Regions from separate parts of the Homo sapiens genome. Here regions 1, 2, 4 and 5 are each linked to region 3. The links are contacts of gene promoters, found by promoter capture Hi-C in blood cells and fetal thymus (Javierre and others, 2016). All regions are on one chromosome and are shown on one strand. The core of a region is centred on a gene start or on the middle of the fragment in contact, and the rest is flanking DNA. Distances in the headings are between cores, read along the strand shown.

The links. The method cuts DNA at HindIII sites, captures the fragments that hold promoters and counts their contacts. A CHiCAGO score of 5 or more calls a contact.
Region 1: a contact is called between the fragment with the promoter of CHMP1B here and the fragment with the promoter of ZBTB14 in region 3, in 1 of 17 cell types (naive CD8 T cells). The highest score is 7.5, in naive CD8 T cells.
Region 2: a contact is called between the fragment with the promoter of NAPG here and the fragment with the promoter of ZBTB14 in region 3, in 2 of 17 cell types (total CD4 T cells and non-activated CD4 T cells). The highest score is 5.8, in total CD4 T cells.
Region 4: the fragment with the promoter of MPPE1 here is called in contact with the fragment with the promoter of ZBTB14 in region 3 in 5 of 17 cell types (non-activated CD4 T cells, total CD4 T cells, total CD8 T cells and 2 more); the score reaches 15.1 in non-activated CD4 T cells.
Region 5: a contact is called between a fragment that was not itself captured here and the fragment with the promoter of ZBTB14 in region 3, in 1 of 17 cell types (fetal thymus). The highest score is 7.4, in fetal thymus.

The regions. Positions count from the first base shown.
Region 1 is chr18:11,848,734-11,853,390 of GRCh38, forward strand. CHMP1B (charged multivesicular body protein 1B) reads left to right here and starts at 2,680. Exons shown (of 1, transcript NM_020412.5): 1 at 2,680-4,657. The coding sequence starts at 2,779. The coding sequence ends at 3,378. All of the region lies in intron 5 of GNAL (G protein subunit alpha L), which reads left to right. RefSeq lists enhancers at 2,533-2,772, 3,041-3,090 and a silencer at 3,097-3,391. The HindIII fragment of the contact is 8,099 bases long and covers 1-4,555 here.
Region 2 is chr18:10,524,516-10,529,055 of GRCh38, forward strand. NAPG (NSF attachment protein gamma) reads left to right here and starts at 1,512. Exons shown (of 12, transcript NM_003826.3): 1 at 1,512-1,643. The coding sequence starts at 1,588. RefSeq lists a silencer at 1,655-1,904. The HindIII fragment of the contact is 5,497 bases long and covers 1-4,540 here.
Region 3 is chr18:5,292,052-5,297,093 of GRCh38, forward strand. ZBTB14 (zinc finger and BTB domain containing 14) reads right to left here and starts at 3,675. Exons shown (of 4, transcript NM_001243702.2): 1 at 3,601-3,675; 2 at 1,921-1,950; 3 at 1,193-1,276; 4 at 1-153. The coding sequence starts at 1,195. RefSeq lists enhancers at 2,258-2,945, 2,946-3,632, 4,321-5,006, 4,724-4,883 and silencers at 3,074-4,013, 4,094-4,513. The HindIII fragment of the contact is 2,257 bases long and covers 2,821-5,042 here.
Region 4 is chr18:11,906,669-11,911,125 of GRCh38, forward strand. MPPE1 (metallophosphoesterase 1) reads right to left here and starts at 1,649. Exons shown (of 11, transcript NM_023075.6): 1 at 1,533-1,649. LOC101927511 (a long non-coding RNA gene) reads right to left here. Exons shown (of 4, transcript XR_007066296.1): 4 at 3,881-4,194. RefSeq lists a silencer at 2,042-2,441. The HindIII fragment of the contact is 5,797 bases long and covers 1-3,039 here.
Region 5 is chr18:262,764-267,383 of GRCh38, forward strand. THOC1 (THO complex subunit 1) reads right to left here. Exons shown (of 21, transcript NM_005131.3): 2 at 2,694-2,767; 3 at 2,540-2,600; 4 at 1,263-1,329. Among named protein-coding and RNA genes, the nearest start is that of THOC1, 3.0 kb to the right of the region's middle. The HindIII fragment of the contact is 529 bases long and covers 2,567-3,095 here.

The DNA.
Region 1 (4,657 bases), core at 1,430-3,929, 6.6 Mb after region 3:
TTCCTGAGCCACCATGCCCAGTCAACAACCACACTTTATAAAGTTCATATTAACTTTGCAGTCAATGCAACTCTGTCTTCTCAAAAAAACAGCTGGAAAGTCAACTTCTTTCTTTAGGCTACATGATGATCATTATTTTATTCTTATTAATTCATGTTCATTGGATTCCCCATTGCCTTATTACTGGTCCCAATACATCCATGGAATCCGGTTTCTAACACTTACCTAATGTGTGGGTTCAGGCAAGTTTCTTAGCTCTCTGTGCTTCCTTTTCATTACCTGTGAACTGGAGACATTTATAGTATCTACTTCATAGGGTTTGCGAAGCTGAAATGAGTTAATTTATGTAAAGTGCCCAGAACAATGTCTGGTGCATAAGTACTTTATTAATGTTAGTTGTCATTATCATCATCATCTATCGGAGTCTCTCATGATTATATTCCAAACCATCTCACCTAGTCAGAATTTGTCATTAAGAAAACTATGGGCTGGGCACGGTGGCCCACGCCTATAATCCCAGCACTTTGGAATGCCAAGGTGGGCAGATCAACTGAGGTCAGGAGTTCGAGGCCAGCCTGACCAACATGGCGAAACCCCAGCTGTACTGAAAATACAAAAATTAGCCGGTAGTGCTGGCGTGTGCCTGTAATCTCAGCTACTCGGGAGACTGAGGCAGGAGAATCGCGTGAACCCAGAAGGGGGAGGCTGCAGTGAGCCAAGATCACACTACTGCACTCCAGCCTGAGTGACAAAGCAAGATTTCATCTCAAAAAAAAAAAAAAAAAAAAGAAAGAAAAGAAAAAAGAAAACTATGGAGCATGACATGGAAGCTGGATAAGAAACTTGTTTGCAAACTCCAAGAAAAACCAGGACCTAAAAGAAGGGAAGAGTGGAATGGAGGGTGAGCAGAGTAGGGGGCCTAAGCTCTCTATATCCACTTTGAACAGATTTCTTCCCCTTTTTTTTGGTTGTTTATATTCCATTTCTAGAAAAGTTTCATTTGGAAAAAGGGTTCTACTGCTTTGCGGGGCAAAAAGGAACCATAGCTAAGCTGCTAACTAGGGTAACATCCTATCCCCTCTGAAATACAATTAAATTCAGCAACGCCATCTGGATTCAGTGGCTGCTGTGTGCAGAGCGCCTGCTGGGCTCCATGGAGAGGGGAAGGAATCAGTGTCTGCATCCAAGTAGTTCACACTGTAACAGGTGACCTATACACACAGACCCCTTGCCAGGCAATGTGCCCTGTAGTATGGCCACACAGAGGAGGAGTCCTGGGGAGGCTCCATGGTGAAGGTGGCTTTTGAAGGACTGGCAGGGTGTCAATAGGCAGAGATGCATGGACACTAAAATCCAGGCAACAGGAACAGCATAGCCACAGGACCGGGCGTCAGTCACATTCTCCCCGCTGGCCGAATGACGCAAATAATGCTCAAATTCCATGCTGCGGTTTGCTTTGACTGGCGGAGGTGGAGGGGCGCGAAAGACGAGCCAGCATGCTGCACAGCAGGTTTAGCCTCCATGCCCGGGGTTTGGAGCAAGAGAGTGAAAACATCAGAGCTATGTCTTCAGAAGGTCTTGTGTTGTGAAACTGACTGGCAAGCTATCACAGGAAGCTAAGCGAGGTGGCAGGCTGCTAGATTAAAATGATCTCTAAACAGAATTCGCTCTCAGAGTTCATTTTCAGCCTACCTCATTAGGGCAGATTTGGTCTTCTCACATTGTTATTGCTGTATCGGAGGAATCTTTCTAAAGAGAAAAGTGACAGCACACATTGCTGCCATTTGAAAGCCAGCATTTTTAAAGGGCGTAATACATAGTGACAGTTTTGATGTATGCCCGTGGGTGTGGGTCCTGATATCTCAACATACTCTGCCTGCATAATTTAAAATGACAGTTTAGCCTGTCAAACTTAAATGTGAGTGAAGTTCCTTGGATATTTATAAAACATCAAAAAGACAGAATGGTGTCAGCAAAAGATGGGTCTTTTTATTACTAAACCACGGGACGATTTTTGGATAATTGCTGGCAACTCACCTAGAAGCTGAACTTCCAGACAAAGTATAAATTTGGTGGTGCCACAGTTTTGAAGATTATTTTCACTCAATGCAATAAAAGGATATTACAGAACTCTAGCACAAATTGTAGTCAAAGATGGAGACGCGTCAATGACCCGTTTGTTTTTAATGTGTTTTAATGTTTTTGTTTTTAATGTATCCATGGTTTCCAGTTCCCCTGAGAAAGTGGAAATTACCCATGCTAATAAAGCAAGCGTTAGTGCGAAGACCTAGCTGATGTTTGGCTGGTTTTTAGCCCGCTAGCCAGTCACCCTTTATAAAGCCTGCCAAGTTTGGAGCGTGGGTAATTTTACACGCGGGTCTCCACAGATCCTGTCTACTTCGGTAGATTTATTACTAGGAAAGTGCGTGGGGGCACTAATTTTTGTGAATTGACTAATGCGTTAGAATTTTAAAAACCGGGTAGAACGCAGCGCAGGAAGCGAGCGTTCCCCGCCGCAGCGCCGGAGCGTCCAGCCAGAATCCCCCTGCATGCGCAGCCCCTGGCGTCTTACGTCCCACAGGCCCCACCCCGGCGCCTTCCGTCCCGCAGGCTCCGCCTTTGGCGCTGGGCTCTGACGTCACCACCTGCGCCGCTCACAGTAGAAACAGGAAGTGGGACCAAAACAAAGGAGCGGCGGCCGGGAGCGGACTTACCTTACCTTCTCTGCCTTCGGCGCGCTTCTCAGCCGGGCCGCCGACCCAAAGGAGCCGTCCGACTATGTCTAACATGGAGAAACACCTGTTCAACCTGAAGTTCGCGGCCAAAGAACTGAGTAGGAGTGCCAAAAAATGCGATAAGGAGGAAAAGGCCGAAAAGGCCAAAATTAAAAAGGCCATTCAGAAGGGCAACATGGAAGTTGCGAGGATACACGCCGAAAATGCCATCCGCCAGAAGAACCAGGCGGTGAATTTCTTGAGAATGAGTGCGCGAGTCGATGCAGTGGCTGCCAGGGTCCAGACGGCGGTGACGATGGGCAAGGTGACCAAGTCGATGGCTGGTGTGGTTAAGTCGATGGATGCGACATTGAAGACCATGAATCTGGAGAAGATTTCTGCTTTGATGGACAAATTCGAGCACCAGTTTGAGACTCTGGACGTCCAGACGCAGCAAATGGAAGACACGATGAGCAGCACGACGACGCTCACCACTCCCCAGAACCAAGTGGATATGCTGCTCCAGGAAATGGCAGATGAGGCGGGCCTCGACCTCAACATGGAGCTGCCGCAGGGCCAGACCGGCTCCGTGGGCACGAGCGTGGCTTCGGCGGAGCAGGATGAACTGTCTCAGAGACTGGCCCGCCTTCGGGATCAAGTGTGACGGCAGAACCCGCTCTGAGGTTTCCTGGCCATAGCCACCCTTTGAAATGCTCTCTGTGTGTTAGAGAGATACTATACCCTAGAAACTCTGAACACGCCAGAATGCTGAAATGCCCTTCTACCTTTGGGTTTACAGCCCCCTCCACATAAATTAAGAAATTCAGTATTTCTGCACTCTTAGCTGGATTCTAAAGTTCTGTATAGCTCGTAATGATGGTATTTTTATAGCAGCCTTTTAACAGAACTAGTTAATTTCGTGTATATGAATCTTTCTCGAAGATCTGGTCAAAACTGTATTCAGTTTCCTGCCCAGAATGATCAGATTGAAGGTGGTTGGTTTTTATTATTATTTAGTGTGATTGATAGTATCTAGAATGGCAGGTGGTGCATAAAAGTTAAAGAGAGGGGAAAGATTACTTAGTTTGGTTATACAGTTATAAACACCATGCAGTGTATTCGGTGGACTGTGCTATTTCTGTTTATCCTTTGGGTTTTGGTTTTTGTTTTTTTTTTTTTTGCCTTCACAGTGAGACTGCAAATGATTGTTCTCATAACGTATATTATTAATAAATGTGGTCCTATAATTTATACTGAAATTACCTTAGGATATTTTTGCATAATACTCTCTTACTGCTTACATTCTATAAATTTTTCACGTGATAATTGTCTTTGCGTAACTGGGAAAAATGCCGAATAACTTCCTTTATTATCTGGAAAAATTAAATTTGTTCATTTATATTTTCTACTTACTAAATTGAGTTTTTAAAAAGACTTAGTGTGACATTTGACAGTGTCTTTCAAACGAACTTCTCTAACAAGTTTATAGTTATTTTCCTGTTTCAACACTATTAGAAGTCTTATAAATTATGCTAATTAGCATGGCAGTCATGTTACACACTCTTAACATTGCCAAAGAACTGTTGATTTCGTTTGAGAAAACCCTAGGACTGTGTGTGTGTAGGTTTTGTTTTGATTTTAACAACCAAAAATAGAAATAAAATTAGAACTGCGTTTTAAGTTCTAATTTGCATTTATTAATTTGTCCAAAAGCAAGAACTCTTGGAAATCCTTGAAAATATAAGCTGGAATGTTTTACTTAGCCATGCAAGTCATTTATGTATACATCCAGCCAGCTGGAAATCTGAGAAGTAAAGAGGTAGGACTGGAAGGAAGGAGAAAGCTTGAGTCTTTAAGGCTAGAGCCCAGCTGTGCTGCCTGCCATCTTCTCAGGAATGGCAGTGCGTATTTTCTGGCTGAAAAGTAAAGCATGTATCCACCGC
Region 2 (4,540 bases), core at 262-2,761, 5.2 Mb after region 3:
GCCTGAAGTTTCCACTTTCACTCTCTTGAAATTCTGCTGCCTTCCTATAAAGGAAGCCCAGGCTAGACAACCAAATGAAGAGGGGTCTTGTGTGTGGGTACTAAATAAGAAAGTGAGGATAGAGAAAAAAATCCAAGGCCAGTTCACCTGTTGGCACTAGAAAAAATGCAAAATATTGATTGGCAAATAGATGCAGGAAGATCGATCGATTGTGTGGTGAGGCCAAAGGGAAGAACTCTTCGAATAGTTATTTCATATTCAACAATAAGTGAGAGTTGGCAGGCAAGCAGAGATTGTGTAGGAGTTTTGAGAAGGAAGGTGTGAACAGCCCTCCAAGTGAGTGGGTGAGTGATTTGACCATGGAAACATAGGAGAGTTGCTCAGCAGCACCAAAGGTCGGCTTAATGTTTATGATCATTAAAATGAGTAATGTTAGCATCCTCGTTTGTTTTTTTCCAGTCAAATTCACTTGCTCAAGAGCAGTTCCAGAGTAGGTGGAGAGCTGGGGTTTTTCCTGGCTTGGAGAAAGGAGGGAGAGGGAGCCAAGGCCGTTGAGAGTATACGCACTAAAATGATGGGACATGAATTTATGCTGGGAAAAGAAGGACGTGTAAGAGCAGAGGGATAGGGAAAGGTGAGGAATCTGGTGAAGGTTAAGTAATTACTAGCACTAGGAGGTATGAGCTGGAATGGAAAGGGGAAGTAAAGTGAGCTGTTTGAAACTGACACTACGGAGGGTACACAGTTATGAGTAAGGTCAAGGGTGTGATCCCAGGAATGTGTGGCTGCGCTAGTGTGGGAAAGATCACAGGAGGTTGGAAGCTGAGAGGCTGTATAGTCATTGCAGGAATCATCCATGTGGATATTGAAATCACCATGAATTATGAATGAAGCCAACTGTATTACTGGTTACTATTTTTACCAGACCACTGTACGCGACTTTAGATCCCTCAACTTCCCATTTAGAGCACTTATCACGGCTTGAAATATTAGAGCGATTATTTGGGTTGGGCGCGGATTATTTGACAGTAATCAGGGTTTACAAGTCTGTTTCGTTTCTTGACTGACATACAATTAATACCCAAAAGGCAGAATGGATAGAAGAATACTATTCTATCTGTCATACAGAGAAACTTCAGATGTAATAAATTATAAAGCCAATTAACCCTACAAACAGGATCCACAGCAGTTTCACATTAATGAAAAAGCAAGACTTCAAGAGGGCGGGAGTTTTTGTCTGCTGATCTTCCCGCATCTAAAATAGTGCCTGACACATATTAGGTGCTTTGCAAATATTGAATGAAAGAATACGCCCCATCAGTATCTCACCGCGCCTGCGCTAGATGCCCTAGGTGGGGCCAGCCTTGACGCGCTGCGCCTGCGCAATGTCTCTTTGCGGGGCGCACCGGCAGGCTCCCAGCCCCGCTTCGTCGCAGCGGCTTGGGCCCTCCGGCCCTCCGTAGCCGCTCGACTGTCGCGCTGCACCAGCTTCCTCCTCGGCGTTCCCACGCCTATTTGGGCGGATTCTTGGCGCCGGAGGAAGAGGCAGGGTCACCCTCTCTCCACGTCAGAGACCTGACTGTGGAGATGGCGGCTCAGAAGATAAACGAGGGGCTGGAACACCTCGCCAAAGCAGAGAAATAGTGAGTGAGAACCTTCCGGGGGCCTGTGTGTAGACGCCGGGTCCGTCTCTCACTGGCGCGGCCTTAGCACCCGGGGGGGGCGGGAGGGAGGGCTCAGGGCTGAGGGGCCTCGGCGCGCTGGTGCCCGCAGGGCTGCCGGGGCTCGGTGTCCTCTGGGTCACACTCCCGGGGTCGGGGTCAGCTCTGCGGCGCCTCGGGAAGCGCCGTGGGTCCACCCCGCCGGAAGTCCGCTCCCCAGAGCCGGTGTGGGCGGGGACTCGGCGCAGTGCTGCGGGGCGAGGGCTTCTCTACTTGGGCGCTCTGCTCCTGAAGATTGTGGTGGGGGCTGTCTGTGCATCGGAGGCTCGTTAGCAGCATCCTTGGCCTCTACCTGCTGGGTGCCGGTCGCATCTCTTCCCCATTTGTGGCAACCCAAAATGTCATCTGGGGAACAACATCGCTCTGTTGAGAACCACCGCCCTAGAAGAGCCCCCTGTGTGGAGGGGACCATAGGTTTACCCCAAAAACTCCTCGGTGAACCTTTGTCATCTGGCATTTTACTGTCCCTGTGGGCAGGGACTGTGCTTCGTTCGTCCTTTGATGTGTATGTCCTGCCACCTCTGGTACAGTACGTAGTAGGCACCCTGCAAATGTTTGTGGGACTGAACTGATAATCCTTAATTCATCCTTTTGGCAGCCTCTTCCCCCCGTTTCATTACTCCAGTGCATTTTTATCTGGCAGTTACAGTTAATAGAAAGTCAGCATTGTGGGCCGGGCGCGGTGGCTCACGTCTGCAATCCCAGCACTTTGGGAGGCCGAGGCGGGCGGATCACAAGGTCAGAAGATCCAGACCATCCTGGCTAACACGGTGAAAACCGTCTCTACTAAAAATACAAAAAATTAGCCGGGCGTGGTGGCGGGCGCCTGTAGTCCCAGCTACTCGGGAGCCTGAGGCAGGAGAATGGCCTGAACCCGGAAGGCAGAGCTTGCAGTGAGCCGAGATCGCGCCACTGCACTCCAGCCTGGGCCACAGAGCGAGACTCCGTCTCAAAAAAAAAAAAAAAAAAGAAAAGAAAAAGTCAGCATTGTGCTCTGTGGTGGGTGCTTCACATACATAATTTCATAAGCTGAGATCTTCACAATAACTTTCCAAATAGAGATTCTAATTTTTCGTAAGAGGAAATGAGACTCAGGGAAGCCTCATAACGACTTGCCCCCAACTGCACAGGTGAAAGATCGCAGAGCCAGTTTTCAAACAGTGGAAAAACTCAAGCTCTATCACATGACTCGAGGCAGTCAGCGTGTAAGGTGCTGGGGCTCTCCTGGTGCAGGAGGTTCCCACAACATTCTGCTTTCTAGTGGGAGCAAACGCAAAATTTGTAATAAGAATAGTGTGTGGAATAGGGACCACAAAAAAGCTGTATTAACTGTGCATAGGTAACCCAGAGGGAGAAGTTTATTCTGCCTGAGAAAATTTGAGGAGGAGATGATTTGTGAGCAGAGCTTGAAAAATACGGAATGTTTTAGACGGAGGGAAAATCTTGTGAAAGAGATTCTGTGCGCAACCTGTAGTATGTATTATACGCGGGCCTGAAAATGTGCTCTGGGAACAGTGAATGTAGTGTAGTCACAGTGCCAGGGGACGAGCTGGAGTGAAAAAGAGTTGGGGCCAGACTGTGAAGGGACAGCTTCTCACATGGCTATTGTAGGCATCCAACCAGTGGACTCGGTTAGATTTGCTTTTGGTGAAAGAAATGTGGCAGCAGGCTGGGCCCTGTCGCTCATGCCTGTAATCCCAGCACTTTGGGAGGCTGAGGCGGGTGGATCACTTGAGGTCAGGAGTTCGAGACCAGCCTGGCCAACATGGTGAAACCCTGTCTCTACTAAAAATACAAAAATTAGCCGGCTGTGGTGGCGCGCACCTGTAATCCCAATTGCTCAGGAGGCTGAGGCAGGAGAATCCCTTGAGCCCTAGAGGCGGAGGTTGCAGTGAGCGGAGATCGCGCCACTGCATTCCAGCCTGGGAGACAGAGCAAGACTCTGTATCAAAAAAATAAATAAATAAAAAGGAAAAGAAAAAGAAATGTGGCAGCAGTGTGGAGAATGGACTTTGACATATTCAGTAAACGAACATTTACAAAGTTGTCTCTGTGTACCTGTACCAGCCACAGAGGATACTGGAGTAACCAAAAGTGGTCCCTTCTTCAAGAGCTTAGAATTCACAGGTGGGCAGACAAGTTAACAGAGGACTAAAAATAGGATGTTCAGTGCTAGAATAGAAGTATTCAGTGTGGTATGGTAGAGATAGGAAGCAAGGAAAAGGTAATATGCTCAGGATGTGGGGAATGGAAGAGGAGGAAAGGTGACTCTCCCATGAAGGTACTGCCAGACATGTTAGTGGGTTGTCGACTTCAGGGGAGAGGTGGTGATGGCCTGAATTCAAATAACAGTACAGGGGTAGGACTGGGTGATGTTTGTCAGTAAGGTTGACATGCTTTAATGAGGTGCCTGCATGTAGAGATGAAGAGTTAACTCCTAGGTTTCTAACTTGGGAGACGAGTGGGAGAGGCCTTCAGCCAAGATAGGGGATATAGATTAATGGATGTGATTGGTGGGTAGGTCTGGGGCAGGGAGGTGGGGCGGGGAGGTGTGGAGTTCAGGCTTGAAGTGTTAGTTTGAAATGCTGCTAGACAGAGTTACTCAGTGGGTGGTAGGAAAAATGGGCCAGGAGCTTAGGAGATATTTGATTTTTCTCCATTTTCTAATGATGACGTAGTTCAATATTGCTGAGTAATTTTGTAAATTGATCCCCACACAGATGGTAATTTTGCTGTTTTCTTTTTTTCTGTGGAAATTGGTCAGTTTCCTTATTGATTCTTTGGAGAAAAAGGTCAAAAGGACTAACAGGTATGGCTGC
Region 3 (5,042 bases), core at 2,425-4,924:
ACATCTGTGTGCTCTGAATTTCACATCCTCAACCACAATAGCAATATCACAAAATTCTCCTTCCAGGCGTTGTTCATTTAGTGTTTTCAGAAACAGAGTTTTATGATCATCGTCATTATATTTAATGGTTTCAGACATACTGATGAAAAACTCCTACAAAAAAAAAAAAAGTTTAGTAATTATAAATAGTACTTTTCCATATAGAGAACACAGTCACATTTTCATTTCCTGGTCAATCTATGGAACCTAACAATTTCAGAAAGTCAATGTTAAGAGTGGTCTTTGAATATGGGTAGAAAAGACTGATCCCAACTCAAGGATCTCCATATTGTTACTCCTGTTCATCTTCAATTTACTAAGTATTTGCCTAGTTATATCCCAGGCATTGTTCTATGTGCTTTACATGTTTTAATTAATTTAATATTCAGGTAACCTCATGAGTACGTATCACTATCCTTATTTTAGAGACAAAGTTAGAAATCTGCCCAATATTCTATAGCTATTTAGTGAAGAGCTGGGACTTAAATGCAGACAATCTGGCTGCAAAACCAGTGCTTCCTGACTAGAGATAATCAAATAACTCAAACTCAAGTTTTAAGAAACAGGTTCAAGGGAACAATCCTCTAGTCCTCTCTGTTGCACCTACTCTTATTCCATCTACTCTATGGAGGATTCAGCAAAATAATTATGTTATACCTCCTTGACAGAAGGAACAAATTACTATTGCAGAACTAGAGAGGAACATTACTGCCAAAATATCCCATTGAGTGTTGTGTTCTAGATTTTCCACAGCACTTTTGGGCCACTTCTAAATGAAGGTCAAGGTTTAATCTGACCTTAAGAGAATGAGATGACATTTGGGAAGTGGCTTTGTTCTCTCTAGATGCCAATCTACCTGCATCCAGATAAAAGTGCCATCAACACCAGATGTAAGTACTTGATAAGTGCTGAGAGTATTTTATAAGCAAAAATTTGGAACTGGCATGAAAGATCTCTGTCATCATGTTAAAAAACTGGTCATCTTAAAGCATTCTCTATGTTTCCTTTTTAAAAACATTGTTTTACTTTTATTCGGCTAATATTTTCCCCCAGACAAATAGAAGTGTTCATGCACAATCAGAATTGGTATATATATTTTAAAGCAAATGCCAAGTCATTTTCATCAAGATTTAATATCCAAAGTTATAGTTACCATGAACAACTCAGGCTATTATCTTAATGCCTTGAACGCCAAAATCTTCAGATCAGAGTAACTCTGATCAGGAGCACGCCAGACCTACAGAGGAAAGGATAAACAAGAATGAGGTAGGATCTTCCTGTATCCCAAATCCTAAACCAAGAATTGATTTTTTAAAAATAAACTTTCTTGTTCCCTCTTTTGTGCATTTTCAGGTTGGGGAGAGTGGCAGGTAGGTAGCTGGTACATCAAGTGCAGTTCTGAACAGATATGGACTAGAACAGATAAGGGCTGTAGCACTCGGGCATAAAGGGGCTGTGCCCTAGGAACTGGAAGGAGGGGTTGGAGAACCATTAAGGGATTTCTCCTCACACACTAAGCTCATGTCCATATTTGTACAGAGATTGATGGCTACACAGATATAGAAAAAAACAAGTGCACCGTGCCCCCTACACCTATCCCATTTCCCGCTGGGTATGTTAGCCCTCTACATTTTTCTCTCGGCTCATACAAACCTATAGAAGTATATACCTTACAAATAAAGCTATAGAAGTACATAAACCCAACAGGTAACATGGGAGGAGAGGGAACAATGATTGCTTTTTCTTTCTGCACCTGTGTGATGTATTAATAGCATACACGTTTGTTTTTAAGATTGTATTTGATAAATCCAGGTGTTTTTACCTCTATCCCTACAATAAGGGTGAAAGAATTTCAGCTTTTTTGTGAGTTTTAACTCTTACCGGAAGAACTCCATCCTGCAGACCCATATCCTGAAAAACAAAAAGTTTCCTCTACTGAACAGTGACCACACAGATAAGTTGTTTGGTGTGGTAGGAGCAAAGGACTGGGCTGTAACAGTCTTACACAAAAACCATGGAACAAGACTCCAACCTGGAGACCAACACCTTGAAACCCATAATAAGCTCCTTCTAAAGAAAAGTGAACACACCGAGCTACCCAGCGTAGAAGCGGGATGTCTCATCTGAAGTTTGAGGTTAGGCAACATTTCCAAAAGATGATTCTGACTTGATCATTCTACGTGTTTCTGCCTCTCTATTCCCTAGAAGCACCCAGGCCTGTAATCATCCAGAGGCTAGGCAGCCCAGCAAAAACCTTACACTGTGACACTTACTACTGTTGTCACTAACTCGTCCTAGGGCTTGTGGGATAAAAGTGCATGGGACCAGAGAGAGGAGTGGCCTTAGACTAGCTATGACAACATATCAATGTGTTGTTGTTGTTTTGGCTAGTGTGTACTTGGCCACTCGCCCCTCTCCCCTCTCTCTCTCAAGATGTATGAGACCTGGAAGAGAGACCATGTGTGTCCAAAGCCGCCTCCTCCCCGCCCCGCCCCCCTTGCCATTGAGATGTCCAATTGCTCAGTTCAGGTGAGTCAAAACTGGAAGACAGCTGTTGCCAGCATCTGTGTAGGCAGGTGTAGGAAAAGACGTAGCCCCAACACCACCTTCATAATAAGGCTGCCCCTTCCTAATTGCTCTCCAAACTGCGGGCGCGCTAAGCCGCGTTACAGTGCAGGGAGCCGGGCTTCCCGCAAAGCCAAAAACTTACATAAGCAGCTGCAGCCGCCTCCCCTGCCCCGGGCAGCCCGACAATGGCGGCTGCACGACTTCCTTGTTGCAAGCTTGCAACTTCGGAGTCGGGAGGAAGCAGGGAGCCAAGCGCAGACCCAAGAAGCCCTCAAGGCGTATCGAGTCCTCCCTCTCAATTTCTTTGGGCCTGGGAGGTGGGGAGTGGAGGAGGCCGTTTGCACTCCTTCCCAGACAAAAGCTCCCAGCCTGGGAGCCAGGTGGTGAAAGGGCCACTTTCCCTTTCATAATCAGACGTCGAGCGCAGGCTTGGGACCGCGGCTCGGAGCGCGCAGGGAGGGACTGCGGCCCGCGGCGGCCCCGGCGGCGCGACGAGCGGGAGCGGGCGTGCGGCCGGCTCCGCAGCCCCGCGCCGCGCCGCGCCCCGCTCCGCCCGCGAGCCCGGAGCTCGCGCCCCGCGCACTCCCCGGCCAGCTCGCGCCGGGCCCTCCCCCGCCCTCCCGCGGCCGGGGGCGGGGGCGGCGCGCGGCCGGCTAACCCAAGCTCCGCGGGCGCACCCGGGAGTGCGTGCGCTGGGTCCCGGCCCCCTCCTCCGCCGGCGGCTGTAGGCGGCGCGGCGGGGCCCGCGGCTCGGAGGGGCGGCGCCCGGCGGGCCGCGCTCCGCGCTGGGTTCGGGCCGTCCCCACCCCCACCGCGGTGCACTGCGGCGGTGCGAGCGGGGGCGGCCATGAACTCGGCCGCCGAGGCTCTGCGAGCGCGCGCGCGGGGCCGCCGCCGCCTGGCCGCTCCCCGAGCCCGCTCGCCGGCCCGCGCGGCCCCCGGGGCGCCCCGGCCCCACGCCCAACCCTGGCCCACGCCCGTCCCCGCTCGCACCGCGCCGCGCCGCTGGCGGCCGCCGCACATCCTGGAGCTGGCTGGTGCCCCAGAGCTCGGCGAGAACGCGCGTCTTCCGGGCCGCCCCGCCAGCCGCCGGCCGCCCCCGCGCCCGCCTTGCGGACGGCCCCAGCCCCTTCCGCACCCTGGCCCGCGCTTACCTGCAGCCTGGCACAGGCACAGACACTGCCGTGGGTTCCCCGCGCTCGCTAGCAAACGCAGGCCGGGACCGGAGGGGCTCGGGGCGCGGGGGCACGGTGGGTGGCAGTGTGTTTTGGATTTTTTTTTGGAGTTTGGGGAGGGGGCGGGGTGGGGGAAATCGTGCACGTCCCTGATGGTAGCAGCCCTCCTCCTGCACGAGCACAGAATGTCTAGCCGGCCGTGAACACCCCCACCGCCCCCCCCTTCCCGTGCATGCGCGGTGCGGGCTGGGGGGAAGGCGCGCCGCCGGCTTGCGCAGGCACGGAACCCGACCGGGTCTCTAAGTGGGCGAGCAAAGAAAGGGTTAATCCGGGCCCTTGCCGACGCTTTCGTTGGAGACTACGGGGCCGCCCCCGGAGGGCCCTGGCCTGCGCACGCGCGCGCACGCGCGCGGCTTGGGGCGCGCGGAGCCCGCGCGCGGGAGAAGGAGTGGGCGGGGCAAGGGCGGGGCTTCGGGAGCCAGGGAACTTAAGCACGAGCGCTGCTCGCGGACACCCGCCCCGCCTCAAGCTCCCTCCCGCCCTGGTTCGTGGGCTTCCGCCCGCGCCCGGCGCCGGCGCAGCGCCGGGGACGCGGGAGCCAGCGCTCCCGTGCGTGTGCATGTGCGTGGGCCAGAGCCTCCCCCGGGCGCGCGCAGGCCGGGCGCTGAGGCTGCGGGGCTCTGCCGCGTCTCGGAGCGGGCGCCCCGGCCACTTTCGCCCTCCGCGCACACCGGCCGACACCGGGAGGCGCGCCCACGGGTCTGCGGTCTTGCCTCTTGCCGCCGGCACATTGAGTTTGTGGGGGAGTGGACGGTGCACAATAAACACTTGCAGAACAAATGGAAAAAGCGACGTCTTCGATTTGTAGTGTAAAGCGCAACCCCAGTTGCCCAGCAGAAAGGGATCACCCATAGGGCTTCGGAGCTAGTAGGTCCGCGCCCGGACACTCCAAGGAAAAGTCCAGGGGCTGGAGGCGGCGACCCGTCTGTGGCAGTCCAGACCCTGGACTCGATTCGGAGAGCTCTGATAACTTGGCTCTGTCCTTAACATCCCTGCTCAGCGCCAGTAATGGCTCCGTTGCTGTTGAACCACGTCGCCTTCCCTCTGACGCGGCGGCTGTGCCTGTGTCTGGCGTCGGGAGCTGGGAAGTCCCTCCCGCTCCCGCGTTTTCTGCTCACCGAGATGCAGGAGGCCGGACAGCAATGCCGCGCCGCCTTAGAGTCGCTCATGTTGCTTTACCTCACACGCGAAGTTTCCCCG
Region 4 (4,457 bases), core at 399-2,898, 6.6 Mb after region 3:
AACATGGAGAAACCCCGTCTCTACTAAAAATACAAAATCAGCCAGGGTAGTGGCACATGCCTGTAATCCCAGCTACTCGGGAGGCTGAGGCAGGAGAATCGCTTGAATGCGGGAGGCGGAGGTTGTAGTGAGCCGAGATCGCGCCATTGCACTCCAGCCTGGGCAACAAGAGCGAAACTCCGTCTCAAAAAAAAAAAAAAAAAATTTATCTTTGAACTTTTCAATTTGTATTTATTTATTTATTTATTTTTAGAGATAGGGTCTCACTCCACCGCCCATTGTAAATCAAAAATGAAATCCTAAGACCCCTCAACCATCTGCATGGACCCCACCAAGGGCATTCCAGAGTTAACCTTGTTTTAGGTTGTTTTAAGCAAAACTTGTTTAGGCCATGATGGGAAGTGGGGGTGGAACTTGACACATTTCATCCTCCTCCCTTTTAGAATTCAGGAAAAGCAGACCAGCATTTAACATGCTGGACACTTAACTTACCTGGAGGCTTCATCTGCATGATAAAACTTCAGTCTCCACAGCCTCTTATTGTAACCCAAACATTCCTTTCCATTGATAATAAATCTTTCAACCAAATGCCAATCAGAAAATTTTCAATCTACCTATAACCCGGAAACCCCCGACCCACCCACCTCCTCAGCTGTCATACCTTTATGGACCGAACCAATGTACATCTTAATCTTACATGTATTTGACTGATGACTCATGGCTCCCCTAAAATGCATAAAACCACACTGGGCCCCGACCACCTTGCGTACGCGTTCTCAGGGTCTCCAAATGGCTGTGTCACCAGCCATGGTCACTCATATTTGGCTCAGAATTAATCCCTTCAAATATTTTATAGAGTTTTGACTTTTTGTCAACCGCAGGCTGCGTCACAGCTCGCTGCAGCCCCAAACTCCTGCGCTGAAGCGATCCTTTCCCCCACAACTTCTCGAGTAGCAGGGACTTCAGGTGCGTGCCACTACACCTGGCTTTTTTTTTTTTTTTTTTTGGTACTTTTGTTGTTATGGTGGGGGCGGGGGACTTGCTATGTTGCCCAGGCTGGTCTCGCATCTCTGGGATCAAGCCATCCTCCCACTTCAGCGTCCCAGAGTGCTGGAATTACAGGCCTAAGCAACGGCACCCAGCCTATCTTTTAATTTTTAACTTCAAAGTTATCGTTAAAAATCTAATCCCCCCAAAATATGAAAAAAATACTTAATATGCACTGACCTGTAGTTTTTCTCTAATTCACTATCTTAAATATATTAATTGCAATCTCATCAACTGCGACTTGCATTTGAAATTTTCCACCTTAAACGGTATTTTTTGATAAGATGGATTTTTTAAAAAATCTACACCAGCAAACTAGAGTGAGAGACCCCTGCAAAGTAATACATGGGCCTTAAGTCACCGAGATTTTCCAGCAAATAATTTGCAGAATGCTGTTTTTCCTAGGTTAACTTGCAATCCTAACACGGAAGGAGGTTCCGTTTTTAGAAGTTTAAATGTTGTCACACGGGCGCAAGAATACATACAACAGCCATGCTTTCCAGCTCTGCGCACAACGCCAGGCAGATGGGGAGCACCGGGCGGTGCGGGAGCCCTTTCACCAGGGCAGGGTGGCTTCGGTGGCCGAGGGACCCGGGAACTGCAGCCGGAGCCGGCGCGCACCCAGCCAACTTCCTGTTTCCGCGGTAGCGCGCGGGCCTGTCACTGAAGCCCCGCCCCGGCGACCTCAGGCGGGCGGGGAAGACCGAGTCTTCCCGGAGCCGCTTCGTCCGCCCGGCGCCGGAGTCCCACGGCCGGTTTGCGGAAGCGGGTCGTCTGAAGGGGCCCGGCGGGTGGCTCCCGGGTCTCCGCGGCCTGTGATCCCCAGAGCGGACAACCGCAGCTGGGGCTCCGTGCGCAACTCGGAGTAAAGGCCGGAACCTACGCTCGGCGGCCGCGTCCCGGCCCCTAGCGCCCTCCGCGAAGTGCCTGGCAGGCTCGGCAGTCTGAGTGTCGCGTTACAGAGTCCCCTGGGCAGTCACCGCTGAAGGGCGGGGGACGCGGGAAAGGCATTTTGGGGACACAGGAGAGCTGCGAGGGCGAAGCACGGGCGAGCTGTCGTTAGGGCCCAGGAAAGGCCCGTTGCGGGGCGCACAGGCGGGCAGGGGAACTCGCGCCCCGCGCCGCGCGCCCGGCCTCCTGACGCCAGGGCCGGCTTCTGAGCACAGCCACCGCGGCGGCCGGGGGCGGCCACTGCTCCCCGCGAGCCCGCTTCCGCGCCCCAGAAGCCCCCAGAGCCCGCGTCCGAGCTCCAGGCCTTGGAGGAGCCAGGCGGGCAGCTGACAGCCCCGGAGCCGCTCCCGGGTTCCGCGCGCGGTGGCAGCCAGGCCGTGCCTCCCCGTTCCCCTCCCGCGCCGCGCTGCCCCTCCGGGACCCACCAGGCCTGGCTGCGCCTCTTTCCTCTCCTCCCCCGGAGCCTTGGAAAGTGCCCTCCAGAGATGTGCTTAGGAAGTGTGTGATGAATAAAGGAGACAATCAGGATAACTATAATATTTATTATGCACTTGCTTTTTTCTCACTGATGTTACTAATTTTAATGGTGTAGCGCGGCGCGTTCCAGTTTTCTAAGTGCTCTCACATCCGTTCAAAAAATCCTCAAAATAAGCCTGTATATTAAAAGCAGGAGCCATTATTTCATATTTCAAGAAGTAAACATGCTCAGAGTAATAATCCACATAGAGCCTTCCAACCAGTCAATTCTGGTACATTTTCACAAATCTATGAGTGTGGTTAATACACGGAGATGTGGTTTGAGGAATTATATAGGACACAGCCAGCAAAATGCCTGGTATACAATAAGTATGCGGTAAATGGTTATTATTATTAAGAATATTGTAATATCTTCAGATATGATCAGGTGAACAACTTTGACATAATCGAAACTGGGACAGCCTGATTCCATAAACACACTAATATGGCACCGTGGATTGTTTGCAGCCTCACCTCTAAAGTATTCTCTCTGACTAACAAAGAAAGGGAAACTAGAACCAGTTAAGCTTATAACACTAATCACAGGCTAAAGGAAATACAGGGGCCAAATGAACCCATTAGATTACACCACCAGGAAGTAATCTGCCAAATCCAGAATGTGGGAAATTCTACAAACCAAATGACCCAATTTCTTTTTTCAAAAATAAATGTTCAGAGGCTGAAGTGGGAGGATTGCTTAAGGCCAGAGTTCAAGGCTGTAGTGAGCTATGATCACAGCTGTGAATAGCCACTGCACTCCAGGCTGGGCAACACAGCTAGACCCCCCATGTCTTTAAAAAAAAGAGGGTGGGGGGACCTTGAGAGACACATTAGCCAAATGCAATTTGTGGACCTTGTTTGGGTCATGATTAAGACAAACAAACTTTTACATAAATAAATGGCATTTTTAAAAACATTGGCGGCCAGGCGCGGTGGTTCTTGCCTGTAATGCCAGCACTTTGGGAGGCCGAGGCGGGCAGATCAGGAGGTCAGGAGATCAAGACCATCCTGGCTAACACGGTGAAACCCCGTCTCTACTAAAAAAAAAAAAAAAAAAAAAAAAATTAGCCGGGTGTAGTGGCAGGTGCCTGTAGTCCCAGCTACTCGGGAGGTTGAGGCAGGAGAATGGTGTGAACCCGGGAGGCAGAGCTTGCAGTGAGCCCAGATCACGCCACTGCACTCCAGCCTGGGCGACAGAGTGAGACTCCATCTCAAAAAAAAAAAAAAAAATTGGGAAACTTAAACATGGACTGAATGTTAGGTGACATTAAATAACTTCAGGTAATTTTATTACGATAATACCATAGTGGCTATGATTTTTAAAGGCCTCAGAGAAACATATTAACATATTTACAGGCAAATTATATTATTTCTGGGATTTGCTTTAATAAAATTTAATAACAAATTCCTGGAGTTTTTTAGAGAACAAAGTGAGAGATAGGAGAAACAATATTGGCAAAGTGTTTAATGTTTAAGCAAGGAGATGGGTACATGGGCATTGTGCTAGGCCTAATTATGCCCCCCAAACATGCCCACATTCTAATCTTCAAACCTGTGAACAAGTTACCTGACATGGCAAAAGGGGCTTTGCAAGTATGCGATGAAGAACCTTGAGATGGGAGATGATCCTGGATTATCCCAGTGAGCCCAGTCTCATTGGGTCCTTCCGAGAACCTTTACCTGCAAATGAGAATTGGAAAGAGACGTAACACTGGAAGGAAGTTCAGAGAGATTCAACCTGACAAGGATGTGGCCGCTGGTGCTGACTCCGGAGATGGAGGAAGGGGCCACAAGCCCAGGAATGCCACAGGTGGCCTCTCAAGGTGGAAAAGGCAAGGAATGAATGATCCTGCAGATGCTCAGGTGTCCTGCCATCACCTGAGTTTTAGCCCAGTGAGCCCCGTGTGGGCTCCTGACCTACAGGACTTGTACGGTAGTAAATT
Region 5 (4,620 bases), core at 1,581-4,080, 5.0 Mb before region 3:
GTGCCAGTTTTTATAGAAGCATCAAAATAACACATAATGTGAATAATGCTTTACAGATTAAAAAGGAGTTTTCACATATATTATTTGAATTAATCAAATGAGTATTTTAACCAAATTGGTTAAAGAAGAATGCTGATAAACTAATTTTTTATTTCTTCTTTCTGCATATATTTAACGAGCTCCTATTTTGTGTTAGGCTCTGTGTACTATGTGCATTGTTTACCCGAAGTCTTCTAAAGCTATCACACACAGCCATTTTAACAGGCTCCTGCCCAGTTTTCCTGCCAGCAGTCACTTCAAATGGAATCATTCATCTGCAGCTGCTCTTTTTTTTTGAGATGGAGTCTTGCTCTGTTGCCCAGGCTGGAGTGCAGTGGCTCGAGCTCAGCTCACTGCAAGCTCCGCCTCCCGGGTTCACACCATTCTCCTGCCTCGGCCTCCTGAGTAGCTGGGACTACAGGCGCCCGACACCGCGCCCGGCTAATTTTTTTATTTTTAGTAGAGACGGGGTTTCATCGTGTTAGCCAGGATGGTCTCGATCTCCTGACCTCATGATCCGCCCGTCTCAGCCTCCCAAAGTGCTGGGATTACAGGCGTGAGCCACCGCGCCCGGCCTGCAGCTGCTCTTTAGTATGGCACCCAGTGCCCTTTATAAATGGACCTAACCTGCTTCTTTCCTCATCATTCTCATTGTCCTCTCCTCCTCCTGCTGTACACAATTCTCTAGCTATTCCTTTCTTAGTATGTCTAACAAATTCTTCATACCTCACATTCTAGTTCTCATGTTCTTTTCTAAAACCTCTCCTGACTCCTTTAGACTGAAGTTTAGAGAGCCATGTTGGCTCTATTCCCTCTAACTACACTTCATTCCCACTTCGACCATAGTACTTACACCATAGTAAGGCATGCATACATCTGTTTCTTCCATTAGCTCCACATAAGCAGGGGAATATGTTTTATTCACCATTGAATCTCCAGGTCCTAGCTCAGTACCAGGCACATAGTAGATGCTCAATGAAAATTTACTGAATGAACAAAACAACTGGAGAACAAAGGAAGTGCCAAAATGTGCACTGCATAATAGAGATGAGAAATAAGAGTGAACTAATTCAACTGGGACTTCTTGGCAAAGTTGGGAGTCAGGCAGAACTTGAAGAATAAACAAAATCAGATAGGTGGAGAAGTATGGGGAGAAGACGTTTTAAATAAAGCATGTCATGTCCAAGATTACTTTAAACAAAACAAAACGGAACCATACTTACCTTCAGTTACTCCCCCAATAGCAAGAGAAATAATAGCTAAAACGTTTTCACATGATGAATGATTTATCTACCAACAGAGGAGAAACAATTTAATTTAGGGGCAAGAGTTCAGACTAAACTCGATTAACAGTAAAAACATGTACTCTGATATTAAATTGACTATCAGAAATATGGAATACAATATTTCTTATAGAAAACAATATTTTCTAATATGAAGTTACCAAAATTTAACAGTAACATATAGAATCAATAGTCGTAGAAGTATGTCAAGTAACAGGCAACTCACTCAAAATCCAATGGTCTCAAGAAAATGGTTATATTAGCAAGATGAAGGCTATAAGCTAATCAAGGACAGAAGTGCTGAAGCCATAACTCAGCCAGTGGCACAGGGCAAAGGCAGGGCTATGAGAATTAACTACTAATACACCCATGTGTCTGAGGGGTGGTTTTAATAGAAGGAAGACAGTGCTTAGGTTCTATAAAATCATAATAACCAGCATTTACTGAGTGTTCATTAAGTGCTGTTTTACACACAACAACACTGAAAGAACGGTATTTCCCCTCTCACAAAAGAAACTGAAGCACAGAAAAGGAAAAGAACTTGCCCAATGCCTCACAATGGAAAAGTGACTAAGTCTGAAGAAAAGGAAAGAATCATTTTTTAATCAGACTTGTCTGAGAGAAAGGGACATTGTACTATGGCCAATAGAAGGGAATCTAGCTTTTGGGGACCCAACCTTTGCTTGACCAAGAATAAACTGTTGAAACTTTTCCTTTCATTCAGGTGCCCCATTATTGGTAAACAAATTCAGATTTTTCATGGTTAGACTTCTCTACCGAAGTTGGAGAGCCCTCAGTTATTTATGTAAGTTTACTGATGAGGAGGATGCCAGAGGAAAATGAGGGAATGGAATCCCAGCTCCTAAGCTAAATATTCTTGGACTAGACCTTTTGCGCCACTACAGGATGTATCACTGCTTATACAGGAAAGTGAGAGAGCCCACCTTCACCTCTAGTTCTTCCTAAGACCTCATGTCAACTTTTCTTATCTCACTTGGAGAGGGCTCTTGTCATTTATTAAACCAAACCCTTAAAATGTACCTGTGCTATCAAAATCCTTAGAGAAATCGTATAGTCATCAAGTCAACTTTTACAAAGCAGAAAGGTTACTCTAAAAAAAGATGTTTAAATATCCATTCTAAGAAAAAAAGCAATTTTTAAATAACATGGTTTATTAATTTGTCAGTAAAATTTTAACAATGGAAAAACATACTTACAATTTCTTCTTCTAGAATACCTCTGAAAGCTTGGTCAAGGGTACATTTTTTTTCATTTTCACTATTAAAAACAAAAGACATCCTCATTTTTCAAACAGCTCAGGGTATGTATAAAGATTGAGGCAAGTATTTTTCATAGATATCAATGCCTTACCTGCCAGGTACCTGGCTGAAGGTACTTAACAATGGCTTGATGTTTTTGTTGTTCAAGGCCTCTCTGGTAGACTTCTAAAAAAAAATTAAAATGGCAAATAATTGTAAAGATTTTGCTTATTATTTGCTGAAAAATATATCGTTCATTGATAGTGTATCTTACTAACTAAAAAATGCTTATACCTGGGAAAAATTACCTATCAGTCATTCTCTCAGTAATCCTTATTCCAATGCTACTTCATGATACGGATCCTCATCACTTTAAATCTGGCAAGAGCTTCCTTGCTGGACTTTTTCATTCTAGGTGATATTTCTGTCTCTTTAAATATCACATTCATGAGTATTGTGCTTACAAAAAAAAAAAATCTCCATATGGCTCCTTATTTGCCCGTTTTAGTTTTGAAGCTTCATAGATCCCTCAAGGTCCTTGATAATGTTATCCCAATTTACCCAAACTTAATTCCCAATACTCCCTAACACATACTTTGCACTAAAGTCTAGCCATTTTTCATCACTTTATATCAAACTCATTCTACTGTATTCACACATTCATGTTGCTCTTCCTACCTGCTCATCCAAATTCTATCCATTCTCCCACACCCATGTCAGGTCTCGCCTCCTGGAGGTATCTTGTTCAGTCCCTGACACGTAGCACTCAATAAAACCATGCTGACAATCTGTAGATTGTTTTAAAGTAATCATAACTTAAAGACAAAAATATTGCAAAAGGCATTCATTCTATGAACACTCACATACACTTAGAAAGTCATCTTATTACCTCACAGGAATTAGATCTATCCTAAATGTGTCCATTCCTTGCTCTGCCACTAACAGGCTGAGTAATTTGGGGCCTGTTCCTTTATCTCTTTGTGCTTCATTTTCGTCACCAGTTAAATAAGAGGGTTTTTGTAGATTTTTACTACCAGCAGCAGCTACAGTGGCATCACCTAGGAAGCTGGTAGAAATGCAAAATCTCAGGCTCCCTTCCACACTTACTGAACAAGAATCTGCATTTCACAAGAAGCTTGAGAAACACTGAACTAGATGATCTCCAATTTCATGGTCCTTTTCAGGGCTAGTATGATTTTTTTTTTTTTTTTTGAGATGGAGTCTCCCTCTGTTGCCCAGGTGTTGTGCACTGGCATGATCTTGGCTCACTGCAACCTCCGCTGTCCGGGTTCAAGCGATTCTCCTGCCTCAGCCTCCCAAGTAGATGGGATTACAGCGCCCACCACCACGCCTGGCTAATTTTCGTATTTTTAGTAGAGACGGGGCTTTGCCATGTTGGCCAGGCTGGCCTTGAACTCTTGACCTCAGGTGATCCGCCCGCCTCGGCCTCCCGAAGTACTGCATTTACAGGCGTGAGCCACTGCGCCCGGCCGCCAATATGATCTTGGATAGTCCTAACAGTTACTCTTAGCAGGCTTTCAAAGCACCAGAGATTGCAGCAAAACGCACACAAAGAAAATGATTATGATGACATACACAAAATATAATCCATTTAAAAAAAACCTCACACTGTGTGTGTGTGTATATATATATTATACGTATACGTATATATATGTATATATATATATATATAACCCTGCAAACAAGAAAACTACTTACTACAAAGGATGAATTTTTCTTTCACACAATTTTCATCCTGGCATCCCTATAACTACCAAAACACAGCCGAATATCTGAGAAATGTTGGTGCAAATGCTAGAGACGAATAGAGTCAGGCAACTTAAAAGTGTTCTTCATACTTACGTTGCTGTGACGAGCAACATAAAAAGAACAGAGTGTCTAAAGTCAGAAAAACCACTGAAGTCACAACTTTTTGGGGGGTGTCAGCTTCTACCTCATGTACCAGGAATAACCAACTTAGCCTACTTCACAGTGTTACTCTAATAGTTAAATGAGAAAGTGATCTGTCAAGTGTTTCC